5 separate regions of the Homo sapiens genome follow, and all the other regions are linked to region 2. Evidence: promoter capture Hi-C in 16 types of primary human blood cells and fetal thymus (Javierre and others, 2016). All regions are on one chromosome and are shown on one strand. The core of a region is centred on a gene start or on the middle of the fragment in contact, and the rest is flanking DNA. Distances in the headings are between cores, read along the strand shown. Region 1 has its middle 20 kb from the start of MIR3916. Region 2 holds the start of ZNF695 (zinc finger protein 695). Region 3 has its middle 28 kb from the start of ZNF124. Region 4 has its middle 11 kb from the start of MIR3916. Region 5 overlaps ZNF124 (zinc finger protein 124).

Region 1 (2,804 bases), core at 22-2,521, 210 kb before region 2:
CTCCTGGATGATATCCTGAAGTATGTTTCCCAACTTGGTTTTGTTCTCCCCATCTCTTTCGGGCACCCCATTCAGTCACAGATTTGGTCTTTTACATAATCCCATCTTTCTTGGAGGTTTTGTTTGTCCCTTTACATTTTTTCTCTATTCTTGTCTGCCTGTCTTATTTCAGAAAGATAGTCAAGTTCTGAGATTCTTTCCTCCACTTGATTACAGTAAGGTGTGTGCCTCATTTCGACATGCTGTGATCTGCTGGCTGCCTGGAATTGGCTGAAGCTCAGTGCTTGTGACTGGCTGAGACCCAGCTATCTATACCAAAAAATACACTCCTAAATTGGGTTTTCGTTTATTTGCATACTAAGTTAGGTTGTAGTTTATTACACAGGAACTGAAAGTAGAAAGACAGCATTGGGACAATGGTCTTCCACTTATTTCATTTAACAATTTCTCCCTTGTGATCAGTCTCTCAATTTTGAGACTGGCATGGTCTGATTTAACGAGGATTCCATCTTTATCTTTAGCCTGGTAACACAAGTCATAGAAGCCTGGAGACCCACTCACTAGAAAAAAAACATAAATATTAAAAAAAAAACGTTTAAAGTTAAGCTTGTCATCCACCATTTAGAATGCCCACAAGCAAACTATTAGCTTTTCCTATAAACACATCCATATTCCCTTTTTAGTGTATTTATTATCAGTGTCTTAAGAAACAGGATATCAGCCACCTTTTAAATTAAGCTTTCTGTAGTAGCAAAATCAGGGGAAGAAAAATACAATATTCAGTATTGTTTAGCACCATGTACAACTGTCCAACAGAGTCAAAGAGGAGATGTAAAATTGTACCATGTCTCATTAAGTGCTTCTGGTGAACACATGCTATCATTCACCTTTTGGAGGATGGCTTCGACCTGTCTGAAGCCCTGGGATGTCTGGTTGACCACACAATTTAAGAATTTCACGAACGTATAAATTAGTTTCAAATTCCACACAACTGGTAACCCACTGCCAACAGGAGTGAGCCGCTAGGTTCGCCTCCACTGAAGAATCTTTCTTCAGTAAAAAGTAGCTCATCTTCATCTATTTAAAGGTATCTAGGAGGTGGCTCACACCTGTAATCCCAGCACTTGGGGAGGCTGAGGTGGACGGATTCCTTGAGGTCAAGAGTTCAAGACCAGCCTGGCCAACATGGTGAAACCCCGTCTCTGCAAATAAAAACAAACAAACAAACAAAAAAACAAAATATATATATTAGCTGGGCATATATATAGCTGGGCACACACTGGCAATCCCAGCTACTCAGGAGGCTGAGGCAGAAGAATCACTTGAACTTGGGAGACGAAGGTTGCAGTGAGCCGAGATCATGCCACTGCACTCCAGCCTGGGTAACAGAGTGAGACTCTGTCTCAAAAAACAAACGAACAAACAAAAACAAACAAAAACACAACAAAAATTAAGATAGCTTGTCTTTATCCATTTCAGTTGTTGACCAATTTAACCTCAGGATCAGCTGTCCAACAATGGACATTCTCTCTTAAAATGCTCTGGCTTTCCACACTTGCAACATCCACTCATAGTCTTAGGAGGTTTTCCCTGCATTTCCCTTCTTTCTTGGTGTTGAAGTCTATTATAGCTTTGTCTCCTCTGAGGGGGATCTTGATCTAATCGTTTTCTGACTACCTCTTCCACAGTGGAAACCATGCTTTTCGCTTTCTGTTTCTGCTTCTCTTCCTCTCTCCTTACAAAAACCCTCTGAGCTTCCCTCAGCAATTCCTCAATCGGTTTCTCATTCCATCCATCAAGCTTTTGTAATTTTTTTGTAATGTCAGGCCAGCTCTTAGTTACAAAGTTAATCTTCAAAAGGCCTTGCCCTGCTGGATAATCCGGATCTAGCCCGGAGTATTTTCTCATCTCTGAGCCGCTGCGGGAGTGCAGAGGGAGTTTTCTCTTTTTCTTGTTGAATCTCAAATGCCTTTGAGACATTTTATGTCCTAGGAGTGGATTCTTTGATCCCTCGAATTATTATTTCCCTGAGGTGCTGCATTTGGGCCCAGTCCCTGGGATCATTATTGTCCCATTGGGATTGACATTTGGAAATTTTTTTTTTTTTTATTGATCATTCTTGGGTGTTTCTCGCAGAGGGGGATTTGGCAGGGTCATAGGACAATAGTGGAAGGAAGGTCAGCAGATAAACAAGTGAACAAAGGTCTCTGGTTTTCCTAGGCAGAGGACCCTGCGGCCTTCCGCAGTGTTTGTGTCCCTGGGTACTTGAGATTAGGGAGTGGTGATGACTCTTAACGAGCCTGCTGCCTTCAAGCATCTGTTTAACAAAGCACATCTTGCACCGCCCTTAATCCATTCAACCCTGAGTGGACACAGCACATGTTTCAGAGAGCACAGGGTTGGGGGTAAGGTCACAGATCAACAGGATCCCAAGGCAGAAGAATTTTTCTTAGTACAGAACAAAATGAAAAGTCTCCCATGTCTACCTCTTTCTACACAGACACGGCAACCATCCGATTTCTCAATCTTTTCCCCACCTTTCCCCCTTTTCTATTCCACAAAACCGCCATTGTCATCATGGCCCGTTCTCAATGAACTGTTGGGTACACCTCCCAGACCGGGTGGTGGCCGGGCAGAGGGGCTCCTCACTTCCCAGTAGGGGCGGCCGGGCAGAGGCGCCCCTCACCTCCCGGACGGGGCGGCTGGCCGGGCGGGGGGCTGACCCCCCCACCTCCCTCCCGGATGGGGTGGCTGCCGGGCGGAGACGCTCCTCACTTCCCAGACGGGGCGGCTGCCGGTCGGAG
Region 2 (2,718 bases), core at 101-2,600:
TATATTTTTACATAAATCCTAACTTAGAATCTCAGAATAACAGTAGTGTTTTATTTTGTTTGAAGTGAGACACACTCACCCATGATACCATCAAATGACTTTAAATATTCTGAGCTATTCATTCATGTTGTAACCTTGGGTGCTCCCCTAGGTCTTTTCAGTTTTACTCCAATTTGGAAAGTGGAATGGTTTCAATCTGGGGGGATGCAACTTTTTCCCAGCAAAGTCCTCTCCCCACAATGATGTTCACCAAGGCCAGGGCAGCTAGTACAGTGCCCTGTGCATAGCAGGGCAGTTGTAGAACTGGGCTGAATCAGAAACAAAATTAGTAGCAACCACTGGTTCAAGGTAAGAGATGCATTAACTGTGCATGAATTCCATATGTGTTGTGAGGGTTTGCCCCATGGCCAGTCCAGGGTTTAGGTCTTAGAAAATAGCTTTGCCCTGTTAAGAACCAAAGAATGACTTCAAGACATACTCAGCTGTTTGGCTAAATTTCTGCAGGAGGAAATGTCTTCACAGCCGATTTTTTTGTTTTGTTTTGTTTTTGTTTTTGAGATGGAGTTTTCCTCTTATTACCCAAGCTGGAGTGCAAAGGCATGATCTCGGCTCACTGTAACCTCCGCTTCCCAGGCTCACGCGAGTCTCCTGCCTCAGTCTCCTGAGTAGCTGGGATTACAGGCGACCACCACCACTCCTGGCTAATTTTTAAAAATACTTTTAGCAGAGACGGGGTTTCGCCATACTGGCCAGGCTGGTCTCAAACTCCTGGCCTCATGTGATCCTCCCTCCTCAGCCTCCCCAAGTGCTGGGATCACAGGCGTAAGCCACCACGACCCGCCAGATCCTAGAAAATTTTAAATGACACGCGTGGCTCACCTTTTATTTATATTGCATATTGCTGCCTGAGAGGATTGCCTCACTTTCCACAGCTCAGGCTGCCTGGTCAAAAGACCAGAGGCCCGGAAGGTTATGAAATCGGAAACTTTAAAATAATTATCATTCATTGTTTCTATTTGTGAAATATATATGTGTGTGTGTGTGTGTGTGTGTGTGTGTGTGTAAAACTTATGAATGGATATAATCTTATATACAAGGTTAAATGCCATTATCCCCCAGGCAGGTGGGTCCAGGTCGAAGTGCCGTGAGGAATGTCGCTTCAAAAGGGCTGCACCCAAAAACCTGTCACTCTTGTTTCATTCGGCCCAGTGTCTGATCGCACCTCCTGTCACTCAAGACCTGAGGGGGTGGGGCCTGGAGCCCCATCCAGTCAGCGGCGCTAGCGTGAGAACTGTCCAATCAGGCGTGCAGCCAGAGAGGAAGGGGCGGCCTTGGGGATCTGGCGGGGCCTTTGTCTCCTTGCGGCCGGCGGGGTGCTGGGTTCCCGTCTGCTGCCTCTCGGAGAGTCCCGGGTGACTGCCGCAGGCTCCATCGCCCTGTGGCCTGCAGGTATTGCGAGATTTATAGGGAGGACGCTGGGACCCCCAAAAGCTGGGAAATGGTGAGTGTGCGGAGCAGGGTGTCCCGAGAAGGGAGAGGGGGTGGTTGGAATCGGTTGGAATTGGCTGGAACCAGCGCTGGCGGCCCCGGGCCTCCCGGCGGTCGGCTCCGGAGTGTGCGGCCGAGTCCCGCTGGCGCAGCTCGGCCCTCAGTCCCGTCCCGCGCAGGTGGGGGCCGGGCCGGCAGCGGGATCCCGGCCGCTGGGTGACTGTCCGGTCTCTGCCTGGTGACTTCGGCACGGCCCAGAGCCCTCCCGGGGCAGCCCCGCGCCCGCAGCGCCGCGTCTTCCCTGGATTGTGCTGTGATGACGGAGGGGTTGTCGGGAGAGTCCCGACTCCCGTGAAAGGTTCCTGGGTGGGAGGAGCTGTGGTCTGTGGGTTCCTTTCTCCTCTTTTTTTTTTTTTTTTTTTTTGAGACGGAGTCTCGCCCTGTCGCCAGGCTGGAGTTCGGTGGCTCGATCTCGGCTCACCGCAACCTCTGCCTCCCAGGTTCAAGCGATTCTCCTGCCTCAGCCTCCCGAGTAGCTGGAATTACAGGCGCCCACCACCACGCCCAGCTAATTTTTGTATTTTTATTAGAAACGGAGATTTCACCATGTTGGTGTCGATCTCTTGACCTCGTGATCCGCCCGCCTCGGCCTCCCAAAGTGCTGGGATTACAGGCGTGAGCCACCGCGCCCGGTCTCCTTTCTCCTCTTAAAAAAATAAACTGAAGCACCTTTGAAATGTTAAGGAGTTTATTCCAGCAAACAGTGATTTATGAATCTGGAAGCCCCTAGCCCTGGTTTGGGGCTAAACTTGAAGGGAAGGTCTTCATAAGGTGCACGAGGAAGCAACCACGTTTAATAATTGATCGGTTGCCATTATGCAGTCACCTTATTTGGACTGTCCAGGATGAAATTTCCTGATTATGTAATAAGAGATTTATTAGCATTTAGTGGTTGGTTAAGCCTACGTTTTGTTTTTCTCCAAGTTTGCAATTTACAAGAAATTCATCTAAGTTAGCTAGGATTCCTTAGATAGAATCCCAGGACATCAAAGCCACTCAGTCTAATTGTCTGCCATTTAAGTATTCTAACACTCCACAGGGGAACTGGTTTTCCCAGCATTTTTCAAATGTATGGCAAGCAGGACCTCAAATCCAGGACTCTGTTCCCCCAGCCTAACTGTTTTAGGGCCTGAAGGAAATCTTGTTTCCAGTTTCTTTTCTACATTCCCA
Region 3 (2,700 bases), core at 200-2,699, 140 kb before region 2:
CTCAATAGAATGACTTCACCGACCTTTTGACTCACTTTGGAAGGTATTGTTAATACCTTGTCACTGCTCACACCATCAACATAAAAACTGACTCCAGACACACCATGTGTCCCTTGAAACTAATCTCTGTCACCTTTTCAAATTTCAGAACCATTTGCACTCTGACAACGTTGTGTCTTTTATCATCAAATCTACTAAAAATTGGCTGATTTTACCATCTTTTCCTTCTCCTGATCCATATGTTACAATTTGTTGACTGAATGTAATTCTTTCTAAAAAGGAATAATCTCTTTTTGACTGCCTCCAGGATAAGAATGAAATGGTTGAGAGCTGTAGAGATCTGTTTCCCAAATTTGAGATTCCACACTGACTACCTGAAAAGATGCATCTCACTGGCCAGGCGCAGTGGCCCACGCCTGTAATCCCAGCACTTTGGGAGGCCGAGGCGGGTGGATCACAAGGTCAGGAGTTCGAGACCGGCCTGGCCAATATGGTGAAACCCCGGTTCTACTAAAAATACAAAAATTAGCCAGGCATGGTGGCGAACGCCTGTAGTCCCAGCTACTCAGGAGGCTGAGGCAGGAGAATTGCTTGAACCTGGGAGGCGGAGGTTGCATTGAGCTGAGATCGGGCCACTGCACTCCAGCCTGGGAGACAGAGCGAGACTCTGTCTCAAAAAAAAAAAAAGAAAGAAAGAAAAGATAATCTTCCTTTCCGCTAAATGCAACCCTAGCTTAGTTTGTACTAGACTAGGGTTTAGAGCTAGTCTTTTGCGGGCTTTCAGAGAGTTCAAATTGACCCACCTCAAAAGTGGAATATAAAGCCACACAGCCCTCAGTCCTCCTTGGGTTAGGATTCAGCTTGACAGGAGCTCTGTAGCAAGCTTTTAGCTGACACCCACCTCAAAAGTGGAATATAAAGCTACGCAGCCCTCAGTCCTCCTTGGGTTAGGATTCAGCTTGACAGGGGCTCGGTAGCAAGCTTTTAGCTGACTTTCACATCAGCTCTAAACCCTAGCTTTCCCCTAACTGCCCCAAGCCTAGTTTGTAGTAGGCTGAGTGGCAACCTAGCCCAAAGTGGGATTATGATACTCCAACTTAGTTGTGGTTGAGTTTTATGTAAACATTTTTGTCGCTATTTCATCTGGCTTTTCTAGATAAAATGTCTAGGAGAAGGTAGGGAGTGACCAGAATAAAGGTGAAATTCTTGGTGCTGAATGAGATACACTAATTTTGTGGATGTAGTTGGGGAGGGATAGCTACCCGAAACCCGCAGAGTAAACAACTGAGACCTCAGGAGATATGGAGAATGGAAGGGCATTAATAACTTTTTGTCTTTCTGAATCACCCTTAGTGAGGGCCAAAGAAAAATCTGGAAATCATGTTGGGAAAGGACAGGGTTAGTATTGGAGCAGATGGTAGGGCAGATGCTGTGGGTTCATATCCTTTTGGTCTCTCCACATCACCCTTCACGGTCCTTTGGGATTGTTCTATCTCTCTCTGTGATGTGGATGTGGAGTTTTATTGAGCATGCATGCTTACTGCCTAGCTGTCTGAGGCTACGGGGGTAGATGATGGAGAACTGTTACTTTTTTTTCTGAGAGACTTAGTATCTCATGGCTGAGCTTAAGCTGGATCTATGGAGCACTGATCCCATTGTCTACTTCTGTGAGCTAGTGCTCCTCCATCTAGTTTCTACCATCTAGAGACGAATCTTATCAATACTTGGGTAAACCAAAGACATAAGTCAGGTAAGGGAATCCTAGACATAGCCCGACTCTTGCCTTTTTCCTCTTCTCACTTTAAATCTTGTTGGCTCAGAGAGTTACCCTCAGATGGAGTCTCTCAGGAGTAATTAGAACATTGTACTTCTAGAGAAGCTGGTGGAACAGGGTAGGGTTCCCAGTTCAAAGCTTCTGTCAAAAACTTCCAGTCTGTGTGTAGTAAATAAATCTAGAAACGATCCTAGAGCTCTGGATGGATCATTAAGAGAGGGCAGGATTTCTGTAGATCAGAATACCAGGACACATGTTCATCCGTCACCTTCCGGGGTCAAATTCTCGGTTAAGCCTGTGTGGTAGGGCTGTAGAGCAGTGTGTGCCTGGGAAAGCCTCTGATCACACATTTCCTCAGGGATTTTTTAGGCCTGATGTCCCTTTGAATTTACTTTAACAATCCTTTTGTAATTTTATTTTTTACATCAATTGTAACTTAGTATTATTATATATATAGGCATTTGGGTGTGTCTTGAAGGCATGTCCTGGTTTCAAACTGATTTGTGGTATATTATTGAATTAGGCCCATTTACTGGAATTATAAACTGCTATCCAACTACACAAAGAGCTGAGGATTCTGGGGAGGTCAGGATGGAGATGAAATAGAAGTGAGGAGAAAATAGCTCTCTCTCTCACATGCAGATTCTTTATGGATAAAATGCATAATTACCTAAAATTTAAAATACTCAAAAAATTATCTAATCAGTATGTAATGGAAATTATAGAGCAAAGAACAAAACAAACACCAAAATAATTTTCTTTTTTCTACATAAAAATTAAATAATTTACATAATGAAATATTCCATGATCCCAGTGTAAAATGCCAATAGAATATATGTAAAAAAAAAAAAAGACAATACCTGTATTAGATTTAAAATCTTCTACAATACATAAGATGAATTGAAATTTTTAGAGTAGAAGAAAGT
Region 4 (2,842 bases), core at 229-2,728, 180 kb before region 2:
TCAAAAAAATGCAAAAATCTCCCTTTTTTAAGGGTCAGTTTCTGGAGATTTGTTTCTTCAAGTAGGGCAGGTTTCCTATTTTCTCTGTGTGCCCCGTGATCACATACACAAAAATAAAATTCTATAGTACTAGAATGATGGTATATGAAACAACTATGCTCTGGTAATCTCATAGAAGCATGCTTATAGATGACACATTGCTTTTCCCTTTCTGTTTTTGAGATTCTCTTCTCATCTGTAATTTTTTGAAACTGCTTATAATGTATCTTGTTATGTGTCTGTTTGTGTTTATCCTATTTGAAATGTGTTGAGCTTCTTAATTTTTTTTTTTTACATTTGAGAATTTGTCAGGGTTTCTCATTTTCTTAATTTCATGTCTGTTTTCCTGTTTTACTCATTGGGCATTATTCAAATGGTTATCTCAGATTTTTCAGGTAACTTATACATCTCCATTTCTTTAGGGTTGATTTCTGGATATTTATTTATTTATTTATTTATTTATTTATTTATTTATTTATTTTTTTTTTGATTGAGCCATGTTACCCTAATGTATATGTTGCAATCTTTGGTTGAGATTTGGGCACTAAAAGCCATCTGTCAAAATCTTTATAAAATGGCTTTGTCCTGGATAATCTGATACCAAGTGACTTGGGCTAGGGTTTCCATGAGCCTCTCAAACCTATTCTCAGGATGTATGTTCTCTGGAATTTTGTGTTTAATTTCCAGTTAAAGAGGTTTACCCTTGTTTCTTCTTTCTTTCTTCTTCTCTAATCAATTATTTGCTAAATCTGTTGTCTGTCTGTAGTACTGCAGCCTCTCTGCTGCTATAACAATTATTTACCTTTGGTCTCAGCAGAACCAACCTTTGAATTAAAGGTTGGTTCTATTCTACCACTATTCCTTTCAGCACTTTGTGTCATGGGAGACAGAAACTAGTCTTTGGAAATTCCATCAAAAGTATGGGCATATGTGCCACTACTGTCTCTATTGAAGGAGAAGCTAGGAGTTGGGAGTTTATTCCTGAAGTCATTATGCTGTGTTTAGGAGAAGAAAGAGTTGTGGTGGGTAAATGTAACAAGCTTTCCTTCCCCTTGTCTATGGCTTTTAATATGGTTTCTAGAGTTCTCACAAAGGCATTTTGTTCAGTATATTTTTGTTATATTATGTTCATCAAAAAATCAGGGCCTGTAGTATTTTATTATGCTATCTCGCTAATGTGTTTGGTATAATTTCATATATTAGCTTTTTAAATTATATTCATCTAAGTCCAGTAAGTTGGATAATATGTTATTTTAATTTTTTTCAGCTGTTTCTTCTCATTTCACCCAAGACCTCTTGCCAGAGCATGGTATAAAAGATTCATTTCAAAAAGTGATACTGAGAAGATATGGAAGCTATGGCATTGAGAATTTACAATTAAAGAAAGATTGGGAAAGTGTGGGTGAATCTAAGGTGCAGAAAGAATGTTGTAATGGACTTAACCAATCTTTATCAACTACACATACCAAAATCTTTCAATTTAATAAATGTGTGAAAGTCTTTAGTAAATCGTCAAATCTAAATAGACATAAGATAAGACATACTGGAGAGATATCTTCCAACTGTAAAGAATGTGACAATTCCTTTTACATATCCTCAGTTCTAACTCCACTTCAGAGAATCCACACTGCAGAGAAATCCTACAAGTGTAAACAATGTGGGAAAGCCTTTAGGCACTGCTCATGCTTTCTTGAACATGAGACAATTCATAATGAAGAGAAACATTACAAATGTAAAGAATGTGGAAAAGTCTTTAAATCCTTCACAAGCCTTTCTAATCACATTATAATTCATACTGGAAAGAAACTCTATAAATGTGAAGAATGTGGCAAAGCTTTTAACCACAGTTCAAACCATGCCAAACATAAGAAAATTCACACTGGACAGAAACCCCATAAATGTGAAGAATGTGGCAAAGCCTTTAACTGGTTCTCATACCTAACTCTACATAAAAGAATTCATACTGGAGAGAAACCCTACAAATGTGATGAATGTGGCAAAGCTTTTAACCAGTGTTCAAACCTCACTAAACATAAGAGAATTCATACTGGAGAGAAACCCTACAAATGTGAAGAATGTGGCAAAGCTTTTAACCGGTGCTCACACCTTACTGAACATAAAAGAATTCATACTGGAGAGAAGCCCTATAAATGTGAAGAATGTGGTAAAGTCTTTATATCTTGTTCAAGCCTTTCAAACCATAAGAGAATTCATACAAGAGAGAAATGCTACAAATCTGAAGAATGTGGCAAAACCTTTAACCACTGCTCAGACCTCAATGTACCTGAGAAAATTCATACCTGAGAAAAATCCTACAAATGTAAAAAATGTGGCAAAGCCTTTAATACCTGCTCATGTCTTACTCAGGACCAGAGTTCATATTGAACTAAAGAATTATAAATATAATGACTGTCACAACACCTTTCACAGAAAAAAATAATTTTACCACAGATTAATTTGTTCATTAATGGAACTTTAATTCTGTGGTTTTTTTTTTTTTTTTTTGGTCTACATAAATCTGTCCTTATGCCAGTACTATATTGTTTAATTACTGTAACATTGTAGTAAGAATTTATATCAGGAGTGTAAGTTACTGAATTTTGTTATTTTTCAGAATTCTTGTGTGTTTGATTTTCTTTATATGTTTATATGGATTTTAGGAAGAGCTTGTCAATTTATATTAAAGAAAAGCTACATTGGAATTTGCATTGAATCTGTAGATAAATTTGTTGGGTATTTTGATCTTCATATTCAGTATTGCTATATTTGAATATTGAGTATATCTCAGTTTATTCAGCTCTTT
Region 5 (2,700 bases), core at 201-2,700, 150 kb before region 2:
TGTGAATGGGATTGCCTTCCTGATTTGGCTCTCTGCATGGATATTATTCGTGTATAGAAATGCTCCTAATTTTTGTACATTTATTTTCTGTCCTGAAACTGTGCTAAAGTTGTTTATCAGGAGCTTTTCAACAGAGACTGTGGGGTTTTGGGGGGTATAGGATCATATCATTTGCAAACAGAGAAGTTTGATTTCCTGTCTTCCTATTTGGATGCATTTTATTTCAGTAGTATGTTAATAGGAGTGGTAAAAGAGGGCATCCTTGCCTTGTTCCAGTTCTCAAGAGGAATGTTTCCAGCTGTTGCCTATTCACTATGATGTTGGCTGTGGGTTTTTCATAGATAGCTCTTATTATTTTGAAGTATGTTTCTCCGATGCCTAGTTTGTTGAGGGTTTTTAACATGAAGGGATGTTGAAATTTATTTAAAGCTTTTTTTTGCATCTATTGAGATGATCATGTTGTTTTTTTGTTTTTAGTTTTGTTTATGTTGTGAATCACATTTATTGACTTGTATATATTGAAATGTTACATCCAAGGGATAATGCCTACTTAATCATGGTGGTGGAATAGGTTTTTGGTGTGTGCTGGATTTGGTTTGCTAGTATTTTACATCTGTGGATTTTTCATCTATGTTCATCAAGGATATTGGCCTGAAGTTTTCTTTTTCATTGTTGTATGCCTGCCATGTGTTGTATGCCTGCCAGGATGACGCTGGCTGTCATAGAATGAGTTAAGGAGTTTCTCCTCTTTAGTTTCTTAGAATAGTTTCAGAAGGAATGGTACCAGCTCTTCTTAATACATCTGGTAGAATTTAGCTGTGAAACCATCTGGTCCTGGCTTTTCTGTTTGATAGGTTTATTATTACTGATTAAATTTCAGAGCTCATTTTTCTGTTCAGGGATTCCATTTCTTCCTGGTTCAATCTTGGGAGGTTTTTTGTTTCCAGGAATGTATTCGTTTTTCTAGGTTTTCTAGCCTGTATGCATAGAGATGTTTGTAATAATAGCCTCTGAGGGATTTTTTTTTTTTTTAGTTTCTGTGAGTCTGGTGGTAATACCCTTTTTGTCACTTCTGATTGTGTTTATATGGATCTTCTCTCCTTTTCTTTATTAGTCTAGCTAGCAATCTATCTTATTTCAAAAAATTGACTCCTGAAGTTGTTGATCTTTTGCTTTTTTTTCTCTCTCTCTTCAATTTATCTCTGATTTTGGTTTTTTTGTCTTCTGCTAGCTTTGGGGTTGGTCTGCTCTTGTTTCTTTAGTTCCTCTAAGTGTAATGTTAGGTTGCTAATTTGAGATCTTTTCAAAGTTTTTGATGTGGGCATTTAGTGCTATAAAATTTCCTCTTAACACTGCCTTAGCTGTGTTCCAGAGATTCTTGTATGTTTGTTCTTATTAGTTTCAAATAATTTCTTGGTTTCTACCTTAATTTCATTTTTTTCTTTTGATTTGTTGAGGATTGTTTTATGGCTGAATGTGTGGTTGATTTTAGAGTATGTGCCATGTGCAGCTGAGAAGAATGTATATTCTGTTGTTTTTTGGTGAAGAGTTCTGTAGGTGTCCATTAGGTCCATTTGGTGAAGTGTTGAGTTCAGATCTCAAATATCTTTGTTAGTTTTCTGCCTTTATGATCTAATACCATCAGTGGGGCATTGAAGCCTCCCACTGTTAACTCTGTGGTTAAGTCTCTTTGTAGGTGTGTAAGAATTTGCCGTATGAATCTGAGTGCTCTTGTGTTGGGTGCATACGTATTTAGGATAGTTAGGTCTGCTTGTTGGATTGAACCTTTTACCAATATGTAATACCCGTGTCTTTTTTTGTTTTTGGTTTAAAGTCTGTTTTATCTGAAATTTGACTAGTAATCCCTGCTTTTTTTTTTTTTTTTGCCAAGGGTTAATATATTTTATATATAAGTAAAGATATACAGTCATACATTGCTTAATGTGTTGTTAGGCAGTTTTATAGTGAGAACATAATAGCGTGTACTTACGCAAACCTAGATGGCATAATATACCACACACCTAGGCTATATGGTATGGCCTATTGCTCCTAGATTTACTTTTTTCTGTTTTCCATTTGTGTTGTAGATTTTTCTCTATCTCTTTACTTTGAATGTGTGGGCGTCATTGCATGTGAGATGGGTCTCTTGAAGACAGCATACGATTGGTTTTGTTTCTCTATCCAGCTTGTCATTTTGCCTTTTAATTGGGGCATTTAGCCCATTTACATTCAAGGTTACTATTCATATGTGTAGATTTGATCTTGTTATTGTGTCGTTAGCTAGTTATTATGCAGACTTGTTTGTATGCTTGCTTTATAGTGTCACTGGTCTATGTACTTACGTGTGTTTTTGTGGTGGCTGTTAATGATCTTTCCATATTTAGCACTACCTTTAGGAACTCTTATAAGGCAGATCTAGTGGGAACAAATTCTCTTAGTAGTTGCTTGTCTGAAAATGATTATGAAGCTTCTTTTGGCTGGATGGGAAATTCATGGTTGGAATTTCTTTTCCTTAAGAATGCTGAATATAAACTCTGATAATGCACAATAAATTTTCTGGACATTAGAGAAAAATTACTGGACTGTAGATTGTGGTAAAGTTCAAATTACTGGAAATAGCAATGGAGTATATCCACTGCCTTGGCCTTCATTTCTGCGTATTTATTTGGTGTGGTAATCACCACTTGAGATTCTCTAATT

The links. The method cuts DNA at HindIII sites, captures the fragments that hold promoters and counts their contacts. A CHiCAGO score of 5 or more calls a contact.
Region 1: a fragment that was not itself captured here is called in contact with the fragment with the promoter of ZNF695 in region 2 in 1 of 17 cell types (monocytes); the score reaches 5.2 in monocytes.
Region 3: a contact is called between a fragment that was not itself captured here and the fragment with the promoter of ZNF695 in region 2, in 1 of 17 cell types (erythroblasts). The highest score is 6.0, in erythroblasts.
Region 4: a fragment that was not itself captured here is called in contact with the fragment with the promoter of ZNF695 in region 2 in 3 of 17 cell types (erythroblasts, megakaryocytes and M1 macrophages); the score reaches 9.3 in erythroblasts.
Region 5: a fragment that was not itself captured here is called in contact with the fragment with the promoter of ZNF695 in region 2 in 1 of 17 cell types (erythroblasts); the score reaches 6.2 in erythroblasts.

Annotation. Positions count from the first base shown.
Region 1 is chr1:247,220,548-247,223,351 of GRCh38, reverse strand. No RefSeq gene overlaps it. Among named protein-coding and RNA genes, the nearest start is that of MIR3916, 20 kb to the right of the region's middle. The HindIII fragment of the contact is 1,062 bases long and covers 741-1,802 here.
Region 2 is chr1:247,006,689-247,009,406 of GRCh38, reverse strand. ZNF695 (zinc finger protein 695) reads left to right here and starts at 1,350. Exons shown (of 4, transcript NM_020394.5): 1 at 1,350-1,501. The coding sequence starts at 1,499. All of the region lies in intron 1 of ZNF670-ZNF695 (ZNF670-ZNF695 readthrough (NMD candidate)), which reads left to right. RefSeq lists silencers at 1,098-1,157, 1,658-1,757. The HindIII fragment of the contact is 12,382 bases long and covers 1-2,718 here.
Region 3 is chr1:247,142,768-247,145,467 of GRCh38, reverse strand. It overlaps a transcript of ZNF124 not described here. Among named protein-coding and RNA genes, the nearest start is that of ZNF124, 28 kb to the left of the region's middle. The HindIII fragment of the contact is 931 bases long and covers 984-1,914 here.
Region 4 is chr1:247,189,479-247,192,320 of GRCh38, reverse strand. It overlaps the pseudogene ZNF731P. Among named protein-coding and RNA genes, the nearest start is that of MIR3916, 11 kb to the left of the region's middle. The HindIII fragment of the contact is 794 bases long and covers 1,082-1,875 here.
Region 5 is chr1:247,161,804-247,164,503 of GRCh38, reverse strand. All of the region lies in intron 1 of ZNF124 (zinc finger protein 124), which reads left to right. Among named protein-coding and RNA genes, the nearest start is that of ZNF124, 8.9 kb to the left of the region's middle. The HindIII fragment of the contact is 2,038 bases long and covers 432-2,469 here.